Linked DNA regions of Homo sapiens: region 2 is linked to region 1. Evidence: promoter capture Hi-C in human tissues and cell types (Jung and others, 2019). All regions are on one chromosome and are shown on one strand. Each heading gives the region's core, a stretch centred on a gene start or on the middle of the fragment in contact. The rest is flanking DNA. Distances are from core to core; before and after follow the strand shown. Region 1 holds the start of CACNG8 (calcium voltage-gated channel auxiliary subunit gamma 8). Region 2 overlaps VSTM1 (V-set and transmembrane domain containing 1).

Region 1 (5,175 bases), core at 2,306-4,805:
GCAGTGAGCTATGGTCTTACCACTGCACGCCAGCCTGGGTGACAGAGCAAAACCCTGCCTAAAAACAAAAAAAGAAAAACAAAACAAAAACAAACACAGAAGCTGGCCAGGCATGGTGGCTCACATCTGTAATCCCAGCACTTTGGGAGGCCTAGGCGGGCCAATCACTTGAGGTCAGAAGTTCGAGACCAGCCTGGCCAACATGGTAAAACCCTGTCTCTACTAAAAATACAAAAATTAGCCGGGCATGGTGGCACACACCTGTGATTCCAGCTACTCGGGAGGCTGAGGTATGAGAATCGCTTGAACCCAGGAGGCCGAAGTTGCAGTAAGCCAAGATCACGCCACTGCACTACAGCTTGGGTGACAAAGCAAGACTCTGTTTCAATAAATAAATAAATAAATAAATAATTTTTAAAAAACAGAACCTGTGGGATGGGGACCCTGATACCCCTACGACTGCACCTCTTACTCCTACGTTCTCCGCCACCCACTCTGCCCCGGCCACGCTGACCTCACACTGGCTTGATCAACACACAGCCACACTCCCACCTCAGGGCCTCTGCGCCTGCTATTCCTACAGTCTGAAGCACTTTCCTCCATCTCTTACTTCCTTCAGACCTGTGATCAAATGTCACCTGCTCGGGGAAGCTTTTCCTAGATTCCTTATCTACTTCCCACGGGGATCCCTGACCCCTCCCATCCCCTCCCCCAACTCCTTGTCCTCCTTAGCACTCAGTTCTATCTAACACCCTAAAGGTTGACTTTACCTCCATCATTATCTGTCTCTCCCTTAGAATATAAGATATATAACGACAGGAGGTTTTGTCTGTTTGTTTTCCACTGCTGCAGCCCCAGAATCCAGAACAATGCCTGGCACATAATATAAACTCAATAAAAATGGGACGTTGAATGAACGAATGAATGAATGAATGACATCCCTACTAGATGCCACGTGCTGTCCTAGGGCTCCCATGATGGGAGCCCTCACACTTGGCTCTATGCCTGGTACTTGGTCAGACCAGTGAATGGACATGAACTCAAACTTCCACAGGAGAGGCAAAGAACATCACGAGAGCCGTGGGAGGAATGGGAGGCGAGACGGAGCAGATGGAGGTGACTGTGGGGAAGTGGAGACCCCCCAGCTGCTGCTCAGATCCGGCCCATCGTGGTCAGGGTAGAACACAGGCTTGTGCTAGATCTTCCGCCAGCTCAGAAGAAGCCGGAAATCAGAACTACAATGGGAAGCCTCCCTATTTTTAACTGTTGGCAATGGATTCAGATTTTGCTTTCAGTTTTAAACACTTTGTACACTAGACAGAGCGCATCTGTGAATCCCATCCATGAGATTCGAGTTCTGCTCTTGGCTCGGCCCCTTTCTCAGCTAGGTGACCTTGGGCAAGTGACTTCACTTCTCTGAGCCTCAGTTTACCCATCCCCAACAGCGAGGTGGTGCCCACCTCATAGGATTAAACGAGATAACGTTCCCGGCTTGTCGTGAACACTCAGCAAAACAGAGGAAGAAGGGGCAGAGGAAATAGAGGGGGATGAAAAAGAGAAGCAAGAGATTTCAATCTTTTGGCCGAAGGGGGCATCAGGATGGCTGGTTCCACTCCTTCACGTTGCAGACAAGGGCTGTGAGGCTGGGGTGCAGGAGGGAAGACAGTGGTCACACAGCAGGGCAGATATGCAGCAGAACTGGCACCCAAGACTCCTGCTTCCCAGCCCCGCAGCTACTTGATACTCAGGAAAGAAATACTGATGCTAAGAGTGGGAGAGAGAAGGGGTTGGCACAGCAGAGGGCAGGAGTCTTGGAGAAGTGGGGAAGTCGAGAGCCAGGGAGCCGAGCTAGGAGAGAAGCTGTGAGAGGGAGAACAGGACAGAGGAAAAGAACCAAGTCGAAGATCCGAGGAGGTAGCAGGGGCAGGAGCGAGAAGCCTTAACGTGAAGGCCTGAGGCATCGAGTCAGGAAGACGTCGAAGGAGGCATGAGTGGAGGAAGAGGAAGTGGAGTCCACTAAAGGAAAAAGGAGGAAAGGACCAGGATGGGAGGTTGGAGGGCACCCTGGTGGGAGAGACATGGGTGGGGGCACTGATGGGAAGAGAAAGATGAACAGGAGGAGAAGCACAAGGCAGAAAAGAGAGAAAGTCATGAGTGAGGGCGAGTTAAGGCACGAAGTTTCAGGGGAGCAGCAGCCAAAGAGAAGGGGAAAGAGACAGACCGGAAGACTGGGCCGTGAAAGGGGGCGGGAGAGGCAGGGGACTTCAGAGGACTGGGGGGGAAATGTCGGGAGAGAGAAGATGTCACGGGGCACGAGGGAGAGGAAATGAAGGGGCAGGTGGAGCGGAGGAGCAGGGTCAAGATGAACTGACGGGAAAGAGGGAGAAAGAGGCTGCTGGGTGCAGTGGCTCATGCCCTTCATCCCAGCACTTTGGAGGCCAAGGCAGGAGGATCTCTTGAGCTCAGGAGCTCGAGACCAGCCTGGGCAACAGGAGACCTCATCTCTACAAATAATAAAAAAAATTAGCTGGGCACAGTGGCTCATGCCTGTGGTCCCAGCTACTCAGGAGGCAGAGGTGGGAGGATGGCTTGAGCCTAGGGATTCGAGGCTGCAGTGAGCTGTGATTGTGCCACCGTACTCCAGCCTGGGCGACAGAGTGAGACCTTGTCAAAAAAAAAAAAAAAAAGAGAAAAGGCACAGGGCAGAGTGGAAGAAATGAAACAGGAGGAGCCCCAGGTACTGGAGAGAGGGAAGATGCAGGGGTGTGATGGGGCAGCGCAGGAGACACGGACTAGGGAAAGATAGGATAAGGGGGTTCAGCGGAGAGGCAGAGGGGCTGCAGAGGGAGCATGCCGAGGAATTCCGCAGGGTGCCAGGACGCAGGGAGGAGTGGGAAGGAGGGGAGAGGAGGTCAGGGGCGCGAGTGGGAAGGCGCAGAAGCCCCTCTGGCAGAGGAGGAGGGGTGCCCAAGGGGGCCCCAGGATCAGGGACAGGCAGCCCCGGGAGGCTCAGGGTCTCTCGGAGGGGAGCGGCGGGGGCTGCGGGGAGGGCCGCCCGCACCCTACCTTCCAGGCAGCAGATCCTCCAGAGGCCCGAGTGCGTGAGGCCGCCGGGGTCCTTCTTCTCCGAGGCGCCGCCGCCCCCGCGGTGGGGGGTCCCGTCGTCGCCGCCGGCCGTGAGGTTGGTGGTGTTGCAGATGAGGGCGCGCGTGTAGAGCCAGTAGTCAGTGCTGATGGCGATGGTCATGAGGCCGAAGGCGGCGAAGGCGCCCACCGTCGTCAGCAGCACCTGCACCCCCTTCTCGCACCAGAGGCCCCGCTCTTCGTTCCAGCGCTTCAGCGACTCCAGTTTGACCACGGGCAGCCGGGGGGCCGTGGGCCACCACCGGGGCAGCGGGGGCGGGGCCGTGCCGGCGGCTGGGGGGGGGTTCACAGCGCAGGCAGAAGCGGGGGGCCCGGGGCCGGCGGGGCTGGGGAGGGGGGCGGCGAGGAGGAGGCTGCGGCCGGGGAGGGGGTCAGAGCGCGGCCATGGTCGGCGGCTGGTGGAGGGCAAGGAGCGAGATCTCGCATTAGAGGAGAAGAAGGCACAGGTACCTCCCCCAGTCCCCGCCCCCCCCCCCCCAAAATCCCTGCCTCAGCTCCAGAAACTCCTTCCACTCGGGGCTCCACTGCTTCTCTTTCTCAAAAATAATAATAATAATAATAATAATAATAATAATTAATAAATAAGATGAAATCTCTCTCCACTCTTGTCTTCTGCCCAAGAAAGTCATCCCACCATCCCACTAACCCCACTCGGAGGAGTCCCCACCACCGCTAATAATTAATAAATAAGATGAAATCTCTCTCCACTCCTGTCTTCTGCCCAAGAAAGTCGTCCCACCATCCCACTAACCCCACTCGGAGGAGTCCCCACCACCGCTAATAATTAATAAATAAGATGAAATCTCTCTCCACTCCTGTCTTCTGCCCAAGAAAGTCGTCCCACCATCCCACTAACCCCACTCGGAGGAGTCCCCACCACCGCTAATAATTAATAAATAAGATGAAATCTCTCTCCACTCCTGTCTTCTGCCCAAGAAAGTCGTCCCACCATCCCACTAACCCCACTCGGAGGAGTCCCCACCACCGCTCACACTCACAGCCCTCGCCCCTAGCCCGCGCCGCCTCCGCCCCAGGGGGCTCCACGATCCTCATCGCATGGGAAGCCACCCCCCGCCATGATGCCAAGCCCCACGCCGCCGCCTCCTCCCCAGGAGCCCCCGTCGCGTTCTTCCTTCCTTAGCGACCCCCGCCCCATCACCATGCGGCGCCCACCAGCTCTCCCCACTCTTCCCCTGCAAGCCCCACCTCTCCACCCGCTAGAACCCTTCCCTGTCAGCCCAACTTTTCCCTGAGCGTCTCCACAACTTAAGAAGCCCGAGTAGCACCACTTCCGTGGGAGTAACCTCCGCGAGCCCCCTCCGGTCTGGCTTTTGTCATTCCATCACTCCAAATGGTCCCCCACAGTTTCCTCTCCTTAGGAAAAAATAAATCTCTCAACCTCTCTTCAACTAAAAAGGAAAAATTAAAAGAAGAAGAAAAAGAAAAAGAAAATCCCAGCTGACCCTCACAGTTTGTGCAACTCGGAATCACCAGCCACCCTCAGTCAGCCTCCTCTCCCTGGAAGCCCCCTTCCTGCCTCGGGCAGCCTCCAACACACCTGGAAATCACCCGAGGACCTTAAAAATTCGGATGTTTGAGTCCCACCTGAGAAAGTCCGACATGGTTGGTCTGCAGTGTGGCCTGCGCATGTAAGTTTTTAAAAGCTCCCTGGGGAATTCTAATGCACCCAACATCAGACCCACTGGTTTGCAAGCTGCCCCCCCCCCGCCATCTCCAGCCCATTCCCTGTCACAGCCCCCACTGTCTCCCCACAAGCCACTCACTCCCCACCCCATACTATGCCTTTACTCCAGGAAAACCCCCACCCTCTCTTTTGCTTTAGAAGAGTTTTCTGAATCTTCCCACCCCGCCACCCCCCCCCCCACAACTTAAACGAACTCATATCATAACCATCGTTTTCTCCTCCATTAAGAAAAATTTCCTCCGTGAGTTCCACGGCATTTTCTACTCGCAAGAATGGCTTCCTCCAGACCCCAAATGTCTCTCCACTCAGGACCATTCCAATCTCTG
Region 2 (5,500 bases), core at 1,559-4,058, 76 kb before region 1:
GGGAAGTTTAAGGGAATCACCGGATAGAAAGACTAAGTTCTGACTTCTGCAGCTGAGAACTGATTTTTTTTTTTCCTTTCTCACTCAGAGGCAGATTTATCCAATATGGAAAGGGTATCTCTCTCGGTGAGTCCTCCCGCTTAGGAGTCCCACAAGAGCTCCCTCACCACAATGGGCTGGTCGTGTGTGCCTCCTGGTTAAGCCCATACAGAAATGTATACTGTTTATCACGCATGTGGTCTTAGACAAGTCACGAAACTCCCCTAATGGGAACCAAAATCTCCATTTAAAAGGCTTATGCATGGGCCGGGCGCGGTGGCTCACGCCTGTAATCCCAGCACTTTGGGAGGCCGAGGCGGGCGGATCATGAGGTCAGGAGATCGAGACCATCCTGGTTAACATGGTGAAACCCCATCTCTACTAAAGATACAAAAAATTAGCTGGGCGTGGTAGTGGGCGCCTGTAATCCCAGCTACTCAGGAGGCTGAGCCAGGAGAATGGCTTGAACCCGGGAGGCGGAGGTTGCAGTGAGCCGAGATCACGCCACCGCACTCCAGCCTGGGCGACAGAGCCAGACTCTGTCCCAAAATAAATAAATAAATAAAAATTTAAAAAAAATGAAAAAAGGCTTACGCAGATCCATTGATGTCACAGGCATAAAGGGTTATAAAAACAGAAAAGAAAAAGAAATGCATCTGGTGTGACCGAGGACCTGGGTTTTAAATTAAATTTAATTGTAATTAACTTAAATGTCAATAGCCATGTGTGGCTAGTGGCTGCCATATTGAACACTCAGTTCTAATATTCATCTATTTTCTCCAAAGACGGCAGACCCCCAAGGAGTGACCTATGCTGAGCTAAGCACCAGCGCCCTGTCTGAGGCAGCTTCAGACACCACCCAGGAGCCCCCAGGATCTCATGAATATGCGGCACTGAAAGTGTAGCAAGAAGACAGCCCTGGCCACTAAAGGAGGGGGGATCGTGCTGGCCAAGGTTATCGGAAATCTGGAGATGCAGATACTGTGTTTCCTTGCTCTTCGTCCATATCAATAAAATTAAGTTTCTCGTCTTAAAAAGAAATCTGACTTATTTATGGATTATTCATGCCCAAGAACCCCACCATACTCTTTCTACCCCACATTTCCTCCTAGAACAATTCAAGGAAATAATAAATAATGATTGACCAGCTATCCAGGAAAGAATGTAAGAATTACTGAGCATCTCCAGGAAGCACAACAAGCAAAAAAGAAAACGGCCGGGCTCACGCCTGTCATCCCAGCACTTTGGGAGGCCGAGGTGGGTGGATCATCTGAGGTCAGAGTTCAAGACCAGCCTGACCAACATGGTGAAATCCCATCTCTACTAAAAATAAAAAATTAGTTGGACGTGGTGGCAGGCGCCTGTAATCCCCGCTACTTGGGAGACTGAGGCAGAAGAATCGCTTGAACCCAGGAGGCAGAGATTGCAGTGAGCTGAGATGGCGCCATTGAATTCCAGCCTGGGCAATGGAGTGAGACTCCATCTCAAAAAAAAAAAAAAAAAAAAACAAAAAACGCCCAGAGCTGCAAACTCCTAGACCAGAGGGCAGAAAACAAAAGGACCAGAGAGTAACACGTCCAGCTTTGTGGGCTGTAGGATCTCTGCTGAGACTACCCCACTCTGCTGTTGTACCATGAAAGCAGCCATCGCTGATATGTAAACAAGTAGGTGTGGCGGTGTTAGAATAAAACTTTATTTACAACTTCATGTTCTCACTCATGTAGGAGCTAAAAAAGTAGATCTCATGAAGGTAAAGAGAGAGTCAGTTATCAAAGGCTAGAAGGGGTGGGATAGTTAATGGGCACAAACACAGTTGGATAGAAGGAATAAGTTCAAGTGTTCAATAGCACAGAAGGGTGACTATAGTTAACAGCAATATATTGTATATTTCAAAATAGCTAGAAGAGAAGATTTGAAACATTCCCAACACAAACGATAAATGAGCCAGGTGCAGTGGCTCACTCCTGTAATCCCAACACTTTGAGAGGCCAAGATGGGTGGATCACCTGAGGTCAGGAGTTCAAGACCAGCCTGGCCAACAAGGTGAAACCCCATCTCCACTAAAAATACAAAAATTAGCTGGGTGTGGTGGCGCACACCTGTAATCCCAGCCACTTGGGAGGCTGAGGCAGAAGAATTGCTTGAACTCGGGAGGCAGAGGTTGCAGTGAGCCAAGATCACACCACTGTACTCCAGCCTGGGCGACAGAGAGAGACTCTGTCTCGAAAAGATAAAAAAAAAGATAAATGTTTGAGGTGGTGAATATCCTAAATACCCTAATTTGAGTATTATACATTCTGTGCATGTATCAAACTATCACATGTATGTCATAAATATGCATAAATATTATGTATCTATAGAAAGTTTTTTTTTTTTTGATGGAGTCTTGCTCTGTCGCCCAGGCGCCAGAGTGCAGTGGCGTGATCTCAGCTCGCTGCAACCTCTCCCCGCAGGTTCAAATGATTCTCCTGTCTCAGCCTCCTGAGTAGCTGGGATTACAAGCTTCTGCCATCACACCAGGCTAATTTTTTTGTATTTTTAGTAGAGATGGGGTTTCACCATGTTGGCCAGGCTGGTCTTGAGCTCCTGACCTCAAGTCATCCGCCTGCCTCGGCTTCCCATAGTGCTGGGATTACAGGCGTGAGCCACCGTGCCCAGCCCAGAAAGTTGTTTTAAAAACAAAAAATTTTATTTGCAAAAACAAGCTGTGGGCTCTAGCGTGCCAACCCTTGTGCTAGGCCAGTGCTTTTTAAAGTCTGCTTGGGCCATCACCCCAACCACTTCTGGCCCTGATGAGGGTCCAGGGCATGAGAGGGAAGGAGAGAGTGTCTTAGTCCATCCAGGCTGCTATCAACATACCAAAGACCTGGCAGCTTACAGACAACACATAGTTATTTCTCATGGTTCTGGAGGCTGGAAGTCCAAGACCAAAGCACTGGTAGATTCAGTGTCTGCTGAGGGCTTTTTTCCTGGTTCATAGCTGGCACCTTCTTGCTGTGTCCTTACATAGTGAAAGAGACTGGGCCGGGCGCAGTGGCTCACGCCTGTAATCTCAGGACTTTGGGAGACCGAGTGGGGGGCGGATCACCTGAGATCAGGAGTTCGAAACCAGCCTGACCAACACGGTGAAACCCCATCTCTACTAAAAATATAAAAATTAGCTGGGCGCAGTGGTGGGTGCCTGTCATCCCAGCTACTTGGGAGGCTGAGGCAGGAGAATTGCTTGCACCTGGGAGGCGGAGGTTGAAGTGAGCCGAAATCGTGCCACTGCACTCCAGCCTGAATGACAGAGCCAGACTCCATCTCAAAAAAAAAAAAAAAAAAAAGAGTGAAGGCTTAATAAGCAAAAGAAAGAGAAAAGAGAATAGTTCTCTCTTTTGCACAGAGAAGAGAGGGGTTCCCGAGTGGGACCCCTGGTTTTGTGGTGAAATGCATGGGGCTTTTATAGACAAGCTTGAGGAGGTGCTGTCTGATTTACATAGGGCCTGAGAGATTAGTCGGACCAGGTATGACGTTTGCATAGCCCCCAAAGAAGCTGGCCATCCCACCCTAATCTTTTATTACGTAGGTAGGGTCTCTGCCTGGCCGGGGCCATGTTGTCTGCTTTTTTACTGCACATGTGGGGACAAAGAAAAGGGAAGAGGGAACCTCCATGTTGAATATACCCGGCTCCCAGGCATCCGTTTTCTATTGGCACAGCTGATGCAAGATTTTAGCTTGTTTATCTATGCTTGCAGCTTGATGTTTCAGGCTGCTTTCTGTTAGAAAAGAAATTATTTGGGGGCTGCTCTTTATTAATAGGAAACCTTACTGAGGACTCTCTTACCCTCACTGTCTGCCTCAATAATTTCTTTTTAGCTCCCGTATTACAAATACCATCACCTTGGGGTTAGGTTCCAACAGCTGAATTTTGTCGGGACACAAACATTGAGTTTACAATACCCATGAAGCTGTCTCTGCTTGTATCTTGTCCTAACCAGAAGCTCCCAGGATTGCTGCATCTGAAGGAACAACCTTGATATATGGCTTGTGTCTGTGTCCCCACCCAAATCTCATCTTCAGTTGTAGCTCCCATAATTCCCATGTGTTGTGGGATGGACCCAGTGGGAGATAATTCAATCATGGGGGTGGATTCCTGCAGGGTCCTATGGGGCTTTGCAGGTGTTCTCCCCGTGTGCAGAGATAAGAGATTGTAAGAAATAAAGACACAAGACAAAGAGATAAAGAGAAAACAGCTGGGCCCGGAGGACCACAACCATCAAGACGCGGAGACCGGTAGTGGCCCATAACGGCTGGGCGCGCTGATACTTATTGCATACAAGATAAGGGGGCAGGGTAAGCAGGGTGAATCTTCGAAGTGATTGACAAGGTGAAGCAAGTCGTGTGATCACAGGAGAGGGGGCCCTTCCCTCTTAGGTAGCCGAAGCAGAGAGAGAGGGAGAAGGCAGCATACGTCAGCGTTTTCTTCCATGCACTTATAAGAAAGATCAAAGACTTTAAGACTTTCACTATTTCTTCTACCGCTATCTACTATGAACTTCAAAGAGGAGCCAGGAGTACGGGAGGAGCATGAAAGTGGACAAGGAGTGTGAGCACTGAAGCACAGCACCACAGGGAGGGGTTTAGGCCTCCGGATGACTGCGGGCAGGCCTGGATAATATCCAGCCTTCCACAAGAAGCTGGTGGAGCAGAGTGTTCCCTGACTCCTCCAAGGAAAGGAGACTCCCTTTCACCGTCTGCTAAGTAACGGGTGCCTTCCCAGACACTGGCGTTACCGCTTGACCAAGGACCCCTCAAGCGGCCCTGATGCACGCGTGACAGAGGGCTCACCTCTTGCCTTCTAGGTCACTTCTCACCATGTCCCTTCAGCACCTGACCCTATACCCGCCGGTTATTCCTAGGTTATATTAGTAATGCAGCAAAGAGTAATATTAAAAGCTAATGATTAATAATGTTTATAATAATGATTGATAATTGTCCATGATCATCTCTACATCTAATTTGTATTATGACTATTCTTATTCTATTTTCTTTATTATACTGCAACAGTTTGTGCCTTCAGTCTCTTGCCTCAGCACCTGGCTAATCCTCCACCCACACATTCCCCCATGCCGTTCTCATGGTAGTGAACAAGTCTCAGGAGAGCTGAGGTTTTTATAACGGGTTTCCCCTTTTGCTTGGCTCTCTCATTTCTCTGTCGTCTGCCACCATGTAAGATGTGCCTTTCACCTTCTGCCATGATTGTGAGGCCTCCCCAGCCATGTGGAACTGTAAGTCCGTTATACCTCTTTTTTAAAAAGTAAACTGACTGGGCGCAGTGGCTCACGCCTGTAATCCCAGCACTCTGGGAGGCCGAGGCGGGTGGATCATGAGGTCAGGAGATCGAGACCATCCTGGATAACACAGTGAAACCCCGTCTCTACTAAAAATACAAAAAATTAGCCGGGCGCGGTGGCGGGCG

What was found. Contacts are between HindIII fragments. The study calls those that stand out against the background at their distance.
Region 2: a contact is called between a fragment that was not itself captured here and the fragment with the promoter of CACNG8 in region 1, in 2 of the 25 tissues and cell types used here (pancreas and spleen).

Annotation. Positions count from the first base shown.
Region 1 is chr19:53,961,317-53,966,491 of GRCh38, reverse strand. It overlaps CACNG8 (calcium voltage-gated channel auxiliary subunit gamma 8), which reads right to left and starts at 3,555. Exons shown (of 4, transcript NM_031895.6): 1 at 3,067-3,555. The coding sequence starts at 3,349. RefSeq lists an enhancer at 4,194-4,714. The HindIII fragment of the contact is 7,710 bases long and covers 1-5,175 here.
Region 2 is chr19:54,036,405-54,041,904 of GRCh38, reverse strand. It overlaps VSTM1 (V-set and transmembrane domain containing 1), which reads left to right. Exons shown (of 9, transcript NM_198481.4): 8 at 89-126; 9 at 825-1,080. The coding sequence ends at 944. Among named protein-coding and RNA genes, the nearest start is that of VSTM1, 25 kb to the left of the region's middle. RefSeq lists an enhancer at 5,445-5,500. The HindIII fragment of the contact is 3,712 bases long and covers 953-4,664 here.